Linked DNA regions of Homo sapiens: all the other regions are linked to region 1. The links are contacts of gene promoters, found by promoter capture Hi-C in blood cells and fetal thymus (Javierre and others, 2016). All regions are on one chromosome and are shown on one strand. Each heading gives the region's core, a stretch centred on a gene start or on the middle of the fragment in contact. The rest is flanking DNA. Distances are from core to core; before and after follow the strand shown. Region 1 holds the start of GPC1 (glypican 1). Region 2 overlaps LOC107985836 (a long non-coding RNA gene). Region 3 overlaps LOC105373968 (a long non-coding RNA gene).

The links. Contacts are between HindIII fragments. The CHiCAGO score rates a contact against its expected background, and 5 or more counts as called.
Region 2: a contact is called between a fragment that was not itself captured here and the fragment with the promoter of GPC1 in region 1, in 1 of 17 cell types (endothelial precursors). The highest score is 6.0, in endothelial precursors.
Region 3: a contact is called between a fragment that was not itself captured here and the fragment with the promoter of GPC1 in region 1, in 1 of 17 cell types (endothelial precursors). The highest score is 6.2, in endothelial precursors.

What each region holds. Positions count from the first base shown.
Region 1 is chr2:240,433,700-240,437,666 of GRCh38, forward strand. It overlaps GPC1 (glypican 1), which reads left to right and starts at 1,964. Exons shown (of 9, transcript NM_002081.3): 1 at 1,964-2,385. The coding sequence starts at 2,220. RefSeq lists enhancers at 333-627, 1,027-1,603, 3,337-3,913, 3,965-3,967 and silencers at 1,433-2,092, 2,153-2,212. The HindIII fragment of the contact is 5,949 bases long and covers 1-3,308 here.
Region 2 is chr2:240,213,411-240,217,377 of GRCh38, forward strand. All of the region lies in intron 2 of LOC107985836 (a long non-coding RNA gene), which reads right to left. Among named protein-coding and RNA genes, the nearest start is that of OTOS, 75 kb to the left of the region's middle. The HindIII fragment of the contact is 1,243 bases long and covers 1,357-2,599 here.
Region 3 is chr2:240,250,031-240,253,997 of GRCh38, forward strand. It overlaps LOC105373968 (a long non-coding RNA gene), which reads right to left. Exons shown (of 2, transcript XR_924057.3): 2 at 2,079-3,967. Among named protein-coding and RNA genes, the nearest start is that of OTOS, 110 kb to the left of the region's middle. RefSeq lists enhancers at 1,216-1,729, 1,730-2,241. The HindIII fragment of the contact is 8,779 bases long and covers 1-3,967 here.

The DNA of each region.
Region 1 (3,967 bases), core at 714-3,213:
CTGGCCTGCGGAATGGGAATGATTCCAGGACCTGCGATGGTGGTAAGGACTTCCTTAGGAGATGAAGCCACCCAGGGGTCACCAGGGCCAGGCAGAGGCTGCCACCATCGCGTTCTAAGCCCTGCTGTCCACACTGCCATCCAGAGGCCCAGAACTAGGCTGGAGGAAGGACTTGCCTGGAGGAATAACCCAACCTGGTCAGATTAAGAGGAGGCGTAGACAGTGACGGGGTAACTATAGAGCCTCAGGCCGGGTTAACCTCAAGTCCAGCTTCCTAGGCCCAGGCAGCCCTGCCTGATCCCGCAGTGCGTGAGACCACACAGAGAGAGAGCGGGATCGTGGGCCCAGGCTCCTGACCGTGCTGGATAAGGTGTGCAGGCAGCCACGCCAGGCCCAGGCAAGAAGGAGCAAGCCTGGAGCATGTACTGAACAGGGGTCTGTGAGTCACAAAATGTGACGCAGCAGAGGGTATGTGGGGGAGGGCAGGGAAATGCACACTTGGATTGGGTCCCCAAAGCCTCCCTCTCCAGCAATGACTCAGTGTCTCTGGGTGAAGGAGCAACCTTCTCTGGGAGGCAGGGCAGGAAACCCCAAGAGCCCAGGGGGAGGGCACCCCACCTTCCTGCTCCAGCCCCACACAGCGGCTGAGAGCCCCAGGCACAGAAGGGGTAGGGAATGTTGCCACCACCCCCACCACGGACCCCGCTGCAGCTTCCAGGTGATGCCACAGGCCCTGAAATCAGGACACCCTTGCTGTACATGGGGGTCATCTTGAGGTTCTCTGCCAAGGATACTGACCTCTATGCCTGCCCCCAATTCTGCAGCTCAGGCACCTGGCTTCACCGCCAGGCCTTACCATGTGGAGAACAGGGGGCCGGGGTGGGGGGTCTGGGAGCCAAGGAAGGAGTGAAGCCCTCCAGACACCAACATCGCAGTCCTCGCCCCCTCCCTACAGACCCCATCCAGCCCAACTCCCCATGTGCAGCTAAAGCCACGCGCCCTCCTACCATACAAGGTGCAGGCAGCCCTCCCGCCTTCTTCAAAGAGGCATCTGCTCCGGCTCACTCCACCCTCCTCCCCCAGTGGCCTAACTAGTCGCCGGGTTCCAACCCTATCCCTTCTCCAGAGGTCATCTGGCCCCACCCAGCAGCCCAAACCAGTAGACCGGCCCTGCCCCATCACTTTGGTTTCTCCAGCATCCAAAGAACGTGGAGGGTCACCCCCCCAAAACAGCTGTCAAGGTCCAACAATTAAGCCATCTGTTGCCGCTCCCTGGGACTGGGAGAGGTGAGGTCGAGTTTCTTGGCGAGTTTCCTGCGTGCAGCCCCCACACCACAAAAGCCCCCGGTGCGAGCCGGAGCCCAGCGCGAGACGGCTGGAAGGGCGCGGGGAGGGAGCCGCTGCGGGGTGCAGGCGGGGAGAGGGGCGGCGGCTCGAGGCGCGGCCGGCGGGCGGAGGGTACGGAGGCGCCGGGAGAGCGTTCTCGGGGCGCGCTGCCAGGGTGCAGGAAGCCGGAGCGCGCGGGAGGGAGCGGGGAGCGGGATGCCGATTTCGGCTGGGGGCGGGGAGGCCCCTGATTGGGGCGCGGGAGGCGTGATGTCACGTCCGGCGGGGGAAGCCCTGCCTCGCGCACCCTCCGCCCCCGTCCCCGCCCCCACAGGTGGTGCCACCGCCCTGGGCGCTGGGCGTGGGGGGCCGCCCTCGGGGACCCCGGCCGCGGCCCCGCGCTGCCCGGCTCCGCCGCCTCCCGCCGGGGATCGATAGAGTCGCGCGGCCAGGCGGGCCCTCTGGGTCCCTAAGAGCCAGAGGAGCGCCCAGTGCGCCCCGGCCCGCGCCCCCGCGCCGCGCCCCGCCCCGCCCCGCCCGGTGCTCCCAGTCCCTCCCCCACCCCTGCGCTCCCACCCTGCCCCGCCCCTCTCCTCTCCCGCGGCCGCCTAGGGGCCGGGCCGGCGGCGGGGGAGGCGCCGAGCCGGGACTGCGCTAGCCCGCCGCGCTCTGGGCTGCCCGAGCGAGCGTTCGGACCTCGCACCCCGCGCGCCCCGCGCCGCCGCCGCCGCCGGCTTTTGTTGTCTCCGCCTCCTCGGCCGCCGCCGCCTCTGGACCGCGAGCCGCGCGCGCCGGGACCTTGGCTCTGCCCTTCGCGGGCGGGAACTGCGCAGGACCCGGCCAGGATCCGAGAGAGGCGCGGGCGGGTGGCCGGGGGCGCCGCCGGCCCCGCCATGGAGCTCCGGGCCCGAGGCTGGTGGCTGCTATGTGCGGCCGCAGCGCTGGTCGCCTGCGCCCGCGGGGACCCGGCCAGCAAGAGCCGGAGCTGCGGCGAGGTCCGCCAGATCTACGGAGCCAAGGGCTTCAGCCTGAGCGACGTGCCCCAGGCGGAGATCTCGGGTGAGTGAGGGCGCGGCGCCGGGAACCCGGGCCTGGCCGGGCTTTGGGCTCCGGACCCTGGTCTTCCCGACGCGGCTACTCGCCCCCGGCGCGGGATCCTGCCGCCTGCGCCCCGCCGCCCGGGCCCCGAATGGCTCCCTGCGCTGCGGCTCCTCTGCAACCCCACGGCCCTCGCCTCCAAGCCCCGCGCCGCACTCCCTCGCCAGGGTCTCCTCCGCCCCGCTCGGTCGTCCTCCGCCCCTCCCCGCCCCCCGCACGCCGGCTTCTTCCCTGCGGAGCTGATCTCGCCGGGCTGCGGGCTCGGGGCGCTCCTCCCGGGCCACGGCTGGAGCTGGGCGTCTTCTGCCCGCCGCTCGGCCCAGCGCGCCTGCAGGCCGGGAGTCCCAGCCCCGGGGCCGGCTGTCGGGGCGCTGTGGGGCTCGGCGTGGCCGGGCTTTCGGGGCGCCGCTGACGGTGGCCGCGGACCCCTTCTGCTCTGTACAGACCTCTCTGGGAGGCGTCTCCGGTCCTGCCCGGGGATTCTCGTAGGGTCTCCAGCAAAGGCAGCCTAGGTGGGTTTTATAAGCTGACCCCCTCGGGGGGTAGTGCGGAGGGGTGGGGAGGGAGCTGGGCACTTATCCGCGGGCGGAACGCCGCCGCCTCGTAGAGATTCCTGTCGAAGAACTTGTACGCGCCGGCCCCCGCCTGGCGCTTGGGCAGCCTCGTGCCGCGAGTCCAGCTGCAGGTGGTCGGCGCGTTGGATCCCGCCCAGGGGCCGTGTCATTTCTTTGTAAGAACAGCGGCCCTCTTGGCGCCCCCTAAGCCCTGCAGCCGCCTGCGGCTCTGCCTCTTCCCTCCCTGTGGTCCCGGAGGAGCTTTGGGGACAGAAGTGTACGGGTGGGTGGAACGGTGGGCTCCGTGTGCTAAGGAACTCTTGGAACCCAAGCTTCACCTTTCCACGTGTGGGAACCAACCTCGGTCTGTACCGCGTGCCAGGGACCCAGTGGGCAAGAACAAAACAGACTAGGTTCCTGCTCTGGGGGGCTCCTCTGAAACCAGGGGAGTGGGAGTGCGGGTGGAGGGCTACTCAGATGGGGACTCAGCGCAGAAATGCCCATGGTCCTGGGGATTCTGAGCAAGAAGGATCCGTGCATCTGGGTGAGGGGGGTCTGTGGCCATGCCTTGCCGCGGGGGGCGGAGTGGTGGGAGGAGGCAGTCGGGCTCTGGACCCCTGCCCCTCCAGGAGGAACAGAACCCACAGACAGCCCCTTGCCCTTGGTGGATCTCCCGATGCCCCCAGCCTGAGGTTCTTGTAAGGGCCCCCTGACCGCCCCCCACAGAAGGAACAGAACCCGCAGACAGTCCCTTGGCGGATCTCCCGATGCCCTCCCCACCAGCCTGAGGTTCTTGCAAGGACCCCTCCAAAGTCCCCAGGACAGGCCTTCCTGTGCCTCTGCAGAGGCAACCCTGTCATTTCCAGGCTGCCCCCCTCACCCCACTGGGCTCTGTCTGTCCCAGGTAGGGGGCACACCTGGATGCCAGGCAGCACAAGGCCCTCGGCACAGTTGGGTTCGTTCTCTGCCCCTCTACTCACACATAAAGA
Region 2 (3,967 bases), core at 728-3,227, 220 kb before region 1:
TCACAGGAGGTAATGGCTGGTGTCACTGGCGTGGCTTAATGACAGAAGTCTGAGGTTTTACAGGACAAAAGGAATTGGGGTTCGTGCATCCAGATGTTTCCCCAACACATGCAGGGACTGTCAAGACCAGGAAGGGGGGACACAGAGAGCAGCAAAGGGGTCACTGGGAGTGGTAAAGGGGCCACTGGGGGTGGTTCTTCAGCCAGGCCCAGCCCCTCCAAGCCCCCCCAGCCCCTCTGAGCCTCTCCGGGGGGATCCTGGGGGCTCCTCTCCAGGCCACTGGATTTCCCAGCACCTGGCCCCATGGAGCCCGGGGCATGGTAAACCCGCTACACAGACCTGCCTGCAGCAGGGGCACCTGGGCTGCCTGCTTCTGACCTTGATGTGATTTGTTTCGATCAGCTGGTTGTTCACCATGCTGAGTCTGACTGAGCAGTCGGGAGGGCACAGAATTCCGCTTGGATAGTGATCAAGACGTAGCACAGGGCGCTCACTGTGTAAAAATGAATGCACCCCTCACAGGCTGCTTGCTGTGTAGACAGGAATACACCGCTCACGTGGGCGTTCACCAGTGCTGTGAGAGAGCAGGCAAGCACAGGATCCCGGGCCAGGCCACACGACCAGCTCCTTGAACGAACAGCCACTTCCCAGTCTTTCAACAGATAAGAACCCAGACATGACCTCTGGGGTACTGACCAGGGTATCCCTCAGAGCGGCCTGGCGCGGGCCTGCCATGCACGGAGGTGCTGTCTGCCTCTCATTAGCATTCAGTGAGTCCAGCTCCTGCTCTCCTCATCAGCATTCCAGCCATGCTGGCCAGCTCGGCCTGAGAGCAGGAGCCTGCCTGGAGATGTCCCCTCTCACCCAGCCTGAAGGCACTGCCTGCCCTTGCCTCGGGACACAGCCGCAGCTGGCTCCCATCTGCAGGGATGCTGGTGACCACCTAAAAGGAAGAGGCTGAGGCATAAAATGTAGCTGAAAGATTGACTTGAGCTGAGGTGAGGGCAGCTGCCTGGAAGACTCGGACTGAAGCAGCTTGGATAGGAGCCCTATTCGGCCTTTATTACAGGCAGGTTTTTAAAGACGAAAAAGGGGGACAGAGAGTTGTTTGTTGGGAATTCCCATTGGCTTACGGAAACCACATTGGTGAGTGATTGGCTATCCACTGTTCAGCTACAGGGCATGAGTTACAGCGTCCAGTGTGGCATTACTAGGTTACTTTACAGCTGCTGCAGCGGTCACAAGCAGCTTCAAGAGGTGGACACACAGCTCAAAGCGGGAGAGGATGTGACTGCTGTCTCATCTTAACGTCTTTCTGGGACTGACAGTGTCAAAAGACTACATTCCTTGGATAAAAGCTTTTTTCCTTTTCTCACTAGGCAGAGAGAGGCTGGCTGACCCCTGGCTGTGGCCTCCTGACTAGATACAGATGCGGAGCCCATGGTGGATCTGAGCCGGGACGGGCCTGGAGCTTCAAGCACGTCCTTGGGGAGGAACTCCAGGGTGCCCCCGGATATGAGAGAGGGCACTGCAGGGTCCTCGGAGGCCATGCAGCCCAGATCTGGCCTCACAGTCCACCAGCTGACTCGGGCACCTTCACTGCCTGACAAGATGGCTCCCAGCTTGCTTGCCGCCTCTGGCCGGGTCTCCAAGCACCAAGCTGGGGAAGCCGGGTTGCTGCTGGACTGTGAGCTCGGACAGTTAACCTGAACACGTGTTTCACAGCTGTGGCCCAGGAAACCATGGCCTCTGTCTGGTCTGGTTTGCAGCCGCTTCGGGCCCTGGGTGTGGGCCGGGCGCCCAGTTCATGCACAGCTGTGCAGCAGGTGGAAGGCCTGGTGGGAGCGTCAGTGTCTGGTACCCTGGTTCCCCGCAGACTCTTTCCAACTCAGTGTGCCGCCTTCCTGCGGGTCAGGACCCATGACTCTTGGAGAAAAGACCAACCCTCCCCCGGCAAGGCCTGGCAATCAGGCAGGCCAGGTCTCCCTCTGGGCTCCCATCCCGCAGGCTCTGGCCCTGCCCCTGGTCACTGCACCAGCCCATCCTTCGGCCTAGTCCCCTTCCCTCCTCCTAAGGACCAGGGCCCAGAATCCTGCCCCAGACCCTAAGCAGCTGCTCCTTCCCTTCCAGGACCACCCCAGTCCCCCACCATTATGTAACCCCTGAGTGTCCAGACGGAGCCCTGGTGGTCGAGTGCAGGTTCCAGAGTGTGATGTGGGTGCATCATTGTCAGAACCCCCAGTTCCCCTGCCTGAAAAACCAGGTGACAGTGATGCCACTCATGGCTATCAGCAAAGTAGCATGTCACGGCCTTGAGCCATCCCTGCCAGCTTCGATGGGAACATGGTCAGGGAATGGAGCCTGGCTGGGGCCTCCCTGGCCCTCGAGGAGAGGTCTTGGTTCTGGTCCGGAGCCCTTTGCTGGGGCAGGGGCAGCCCCGGGGAGGCCTCAGGCTGGCCCCAGGCACCCACCAGAGGCCCTCAAGACTGCCCTGAGTGAGGGGTGCACGGTGAGCTGGTCTGACCTCGGCTCCTCTGGGGAGGGAACCACACAGCAAGACCCTGTGCTCATGAAGAACAATCGTGCAGAACAGAAAGGAAGCTTCACATCACCAGAGAGGGCCAGAGCTGTATCCTGGGCCCGCCACTGACCAGGTGAGTCTCAGAGCTATCAGCTCCTCCTCAGGGGTCTGCCTCCTGACCTGAGAGGGCTGGGGGCTGGAGTGGGCATCCCTAAGGCAGGTCCTCTTGGGGTCTTGGCTGGGATCGGTTGAGCACAGCTCAGCCAGGTGGCATCAGATTCCCGTCTTCCTCTTGTAGCCCTGCCAGCCGGATCCCCACGCCTGTGGGGGGTCAGTCTACTCCAGACCAGAGACACGACCCAAGAAAAAGGGTACATAGGAAGCAGACGGCACTTTCCTCTGAAATGCGCCAACAGATTTACTAGGCAGGACAGCCTCAGCAGACACCCACGCTCACCTGCTGGGCTGCACTGCAACTGCCAGCCTCAGAGAGCTGCATGGTCCCTGTGCACCCCCACTTCACAGAGATGAGCAACCTCTCCACAGTCAGACACTGCCCTGCAGGGAGGCAGAAGTGGAGGTGCACAGAACAAGGGGGTCTTGAGGGGAGGGGAACAGTGCAGGAACCTGGGGAGCAGGGGGAGGTGGGAGAGCCAGGAAGTGGGACAGCTGGGCGTGGAGGTGGATGCAGGGTGAGGGGTGGGTGGGGTGGGGTGGAAGGATGGGGGTGGGGGTGGATGCAGGGTGAGGGGTGGGGGTGGGGTGGGGTGGAGAGAAAGGGGGTGGGGGTGGATGCAGGGTGGGGGTGGGGTGGGGTGGGGTGGAAGGATGGGGGTGGGGGTGGATGCAGGGTGAGGGGTGGGTGGGGTGGGGTGGAAGGATGGGGGTGGGGGTGGATGCAGGGTGAGGGGTGGGTGGGGTTGAGTGGAAGGATGGGGGTGGGGGTGGATGCAGGGTGAGGGGTGGGTGGGGTGGGGTGGAAGGATGGGGGTGGGGGTGGATGCAGGGTGAGGGGTGGGTGGGGTGGGGTGGAGGGACAGGGGTGGGGGTGGATGCAGGGTGAGGGGTGGGTGGGGTGGGGTGGAAGGATGGGGGTGGGGTGGATGCAGGGTGAGGGGTGGGTGGGGTGGGGTGGAGGGACGGGGTGTGGGTGGATGCAGGGTGAGGGGTGGGGGGGTGGAGGGACAGAGCATGGGGGTGCTGGGGCCCCTGGGTGAGGTGGCGCCTCCTGGCTGTGGAGTTCATGCTCCTAAGGGGAAGATGGAGGTTAGAGGCCTGGGGTTTTGAGGCTGTCTCTGCCAACAGAAACTCAGGCAAGCAGAGGTCAGGGTCAGGGCTAGGGCTTAGCTTTAAGGTTGGGATTTGAAGGAGGTCAGGAAAGAAAATGGGTGGGAGGGTGCAATGTTGTGCCATGGTATTTGGGTCACCAGGGGCTCTGAGCAAAGG
Region 3 (3,967 bases), core at 519-3,018, 180 kb before region 1:
GGCCTCCCTCCCTCCCAGGCTGCGAGCCAGTGGTTGAAGATTTTCTCTGGAGGCATTTTCAGATCTGGCCTAGCACGGCCCCAGGTATCCCGTCCTACCTGCCAGGTGGGCAGGGACCTTCCTGAGACACAGTACAAGGGAGTAGGCCTTGCCCCAGGGAGTTCTGGCTGGGGGCTCCTGTGGGACAGCTCTGGGGACCCCAACACCTGCCCTGGGGACCTCCCCTTCCCACCTCCTGAGACACTGCTGGGTCCCTCTGTCAATCACATTTCTAGCTCTCCCGCCTCTACCAGGCAGGCCAATCAGATGGTGCCACCTCCTCACCCGCCCCACCTTACAGTCATCCCTGCAAGGGTGGGATTGACAAGGGGGAAATCGGCCCAGCTTGGGGTGGAGGAGACGTTGATGAGGATCCTGGGAGACAAGGCCACCTCTTCCCAGCCATGGAGACTCCTGGGATGGACCCTCCCTCCCTTGACCCCCATAAAGGAGAGTCTTTGGGAAGGGAGAAGGAGGGCTGAAGAGGGAGGAGGGTTCCCACAAGAGTACAGCCCAAGCACTGCCGCGGCAGTGGAAGGCCCCAGCCCAGCCACACGGAGTCTCGAGGCTGAGGACAGAGAAGGCACCTGGGTGCAAGGAGGCCCTTGGGTGTAGTTTGCAGTAGGACCAGTGGGCACAAGCGCCCAGGATGAGAGCCACAGGCTGACGGAGCCCCATGTGAAGGGGTAGAGGTCAGGGCAGAGGGGGACCCTAGGGAAGGCTCAGGACCCGTGCCTGGAGAGGAAGACCCCACGGCACCCACTTTCTGGTTCCTGAAGCCTTCCTGGCCACCACACTGTCCCGTTCCTGACCTGCCCAGGGTGGGCACCAGGGCTGGGGCTGGCCACAGGGACCCCTAGGGTCAGACAGCAAGTCCCAGCTGGTGCCACTCTGGCCCCCACCAACTGCGTGGACAGCCCTCACCCCCGCTCAGCCTCCCTGAGAAGAAAGGGTGGGCACAAACCCTCCGCCCCCACCCATAAAGGGCATGAGGAGAGGGCCCGGTACCCCTGAGCCCAAGCAGCCGGCGGAGAAGGGGCTGCAGAGGCCTGGCTGCCAGTCCCTGGAGATGACCCAAGGTGCGTATGACCAGCAGGGCTGTGACCCCTAGCCCAGCCTGGGCTGACCACACGCCTGCAGGAGGCCACGCCTCTGGGTAGTGATGAGAAACCGCAGCCTCAGAGTAGGTGGGTGTGGCCTGAGAGCATGACTCACGCTGGGCTGCCCGGGGTCAGTCACGGGCTGGGTGAGACCTTTGTGTGCTGAGCCTGGGGCTCCCCACACTCGAGTGGTCCCCCGTGGCCTCACAGAGCAGCCTCAGAGGCCAGCCTGCCACCCCCTCATCCCACACAGAAGGAGGCTGAGTCCTCAGCGGGGGAGGGGCTGGTCATCCCATGGCCACGGATCCCGGAATAGCCGACCTCCAGCCCCCGCGCACGGGTACATTCTGTACGCCCAGGGTGGCTGGCGTGGGTGGCGGCTGGCCCTGAAGGCCGGGGGCTGTGTTCCTGTGGCCGACTCACTGCCCTTTGCCCTTGGTGAGCAAGTCTTCCCTGGGCCTGGCTGCTTCTCTGTAAGACGGAGGCCCAGCAGGGTGGGAGGGGACATCATGACCCCGCAGCACTGAGAGTACTTTGTAAGCTGGGAAGTACCGTGGCTCCGCCAGGGCCATGGTGACATCAGCCATTCACTACTGGCTGGGACTGGCAGATGTCCAGGGACCAGGCGAGGAGGGAGAAGGAGTCTCCCTGCACCTTCCCGCCCCAGCTCTCCCTCCCTCCCGCTCCCACTGCCTCCCCATCTGGGAGCAAGCCCTGGTTTAGAGATTGGGGTTTGTGCTGGGCAGACAGAATCAGCAGTGGCTCTCTCCCCCGCTCCTCCCCCAGGGGTGCTGGGCTGGCCCTTGGGGTTGAGGGTGACCCAGAACTTGCCATTGGCTGCCGGGTGACAGCCCCATCCATCTAGCTCACCCTGGAGCTGGGTTTGGGCACTGTAACATGTTGCAGGAGACCTGTCGGAGTTCAGTGCCATCCACTCCATTAGTCATAATTATTTTAATTAAGAAGATAAGAAACACAACTCATCAAAGGTTTAATTATAATTAGCAGCTAACGACACTCGGATGAATCACTGGCCCGAGCAGGTGCTCATTCACACTTCCCAGTTCACTGGATGCGCCGTGGGAGCCGCTGAGACGTGGGCACAGAAGGCACATCTCCCTGGGACCCGAGAAGGCAACAGAGCCCCCGCATCCCCCCAGCACGATGCAGAAGGGCTGGGCCCATAGCAGCTACCTGTGTGGTCACTCAGCCCTGAGCTCAGAAGTGCCGGGGCTCAGAGGACACCCTGCTGTTGCCACCGGGCACCCTTCACCATCTCTGAACAAGGCCTGGGATTTCTCTGTGACCTAGGCCCCCACAGGGTACAGTGGTCCTGACCCTACATCCATGTACAGGGAATGCTGACCGCGGCAGCTCCGTGTTCACAGCCCTGGACACACAGAAATGACTGTGATGTGGCCCTGACCTCAGTAGTGTAGAAGGAACCCACTGAAGGAGACCGAGGTGGGGAACCTACAGGGCCTAATGGAAACCCCAGCTGGGTGGGTGGCGGCCATGCAGCTGGGAGTGAGTGTGAGGGTGCCTGGGGATGGAGACGGTGCCGGGGATGGAGACAGACACGGTCTCCATGAGAAAGCTGGGCTTAATCCTGACAGAGGGAGGCGGCCTGGAGGCCATACAGGGAAGAGGGGCTCAGGAGGTTTGGAAACAGGATTTCAGGACTGCCTGCGCTGCAGGTGGGTGCTGGCCACTGGTCTAGCCTGATCTGGCACCCTGGTGGTGCATGCCATTGGAGGGGCTCCCTGTATCTGTACTGTGGGGCCTTCCTGTCACAGGGTGGGCTCACAGGTCCTGCCCATCCCTGCATGGGATGTGGGTGAGCTTTGCTCTGAGGAGGCCGACGTGAGCCTCCTGATCAGCCGGACACAAAGTGGGCAGAGGGGCACCGAGCCCCCGGAGGCTCTGGGAGTGGGAAACCACCGATCTGTATGAGCTCAGGTGCCTCCTGGGACAGCCTGGAGGACAGTGGCTGTGAGGGGCTGTCACTGCAGCTCATGGTAGGCAGCCCACCTTCCCATTCAGAAAGGCTTTCCAGAAGGGGACGGCTGTGGATGAACAGGCAGCGTCCTCCTGTCCTGTTTCCATGCCTCTGACCACCCTCTACCTCTTCCCCTCGTCCCCTAAGCAGGCGTCCCTGTGAAGCGGCTACACAACCAGAGCGGGGCTCTAGGGGAGGGTCCTGGCACCTCTTCCAGCACCCAGTGGCTCCCGGTTTCCCTGGTTTGTGGCCTCTCTGCTCCCGTCTCTGCCTCTGTCTTCATGCGGCCTCCCTACTGTGTCTGTCTCTGTCTCATTCTCCTTTCTTTTATGAAAACACAGCCATTGGATTTAGGGTCCACCTTAAATCTAGATGATCACGCCTCCAGATCCTTAACTTAATTACATCTGCAGAAACCAAATAAGGTCACATTGTTAGGTACCAGAGATTAGGGTGTGGCTGTGCCATTTGCGGGGGATCACTCCATAACCCACCATGCAGCCCTAAGCTGTGTGACCGGCAGCAAGTCCCTGTCCTTCTTGGGGCCTCTGATCCCTCGCATGTGAGCATGAGCCCCCCTCAGAGGGACACATAAGGGATCAAGTGAGTCCCACGTTCAGTGTGGTGCCTGTCATGTTGTCTAGGGGTCTCTGGGTTCTGCGAACCAGGAGGCAGAATTAGGAGCAAGAATTAGGACCAGATGGATGGGAGCTGACACTGTCCCAGTGTGACCAGGGAAACAGATCTCTCCAGGACCTCGACAGCATGCCCTGGGCAGAGGCCGGTTGTCATCACCCCGTAGGGCTCAGGCCTTCCCTGGCTTCCCAGA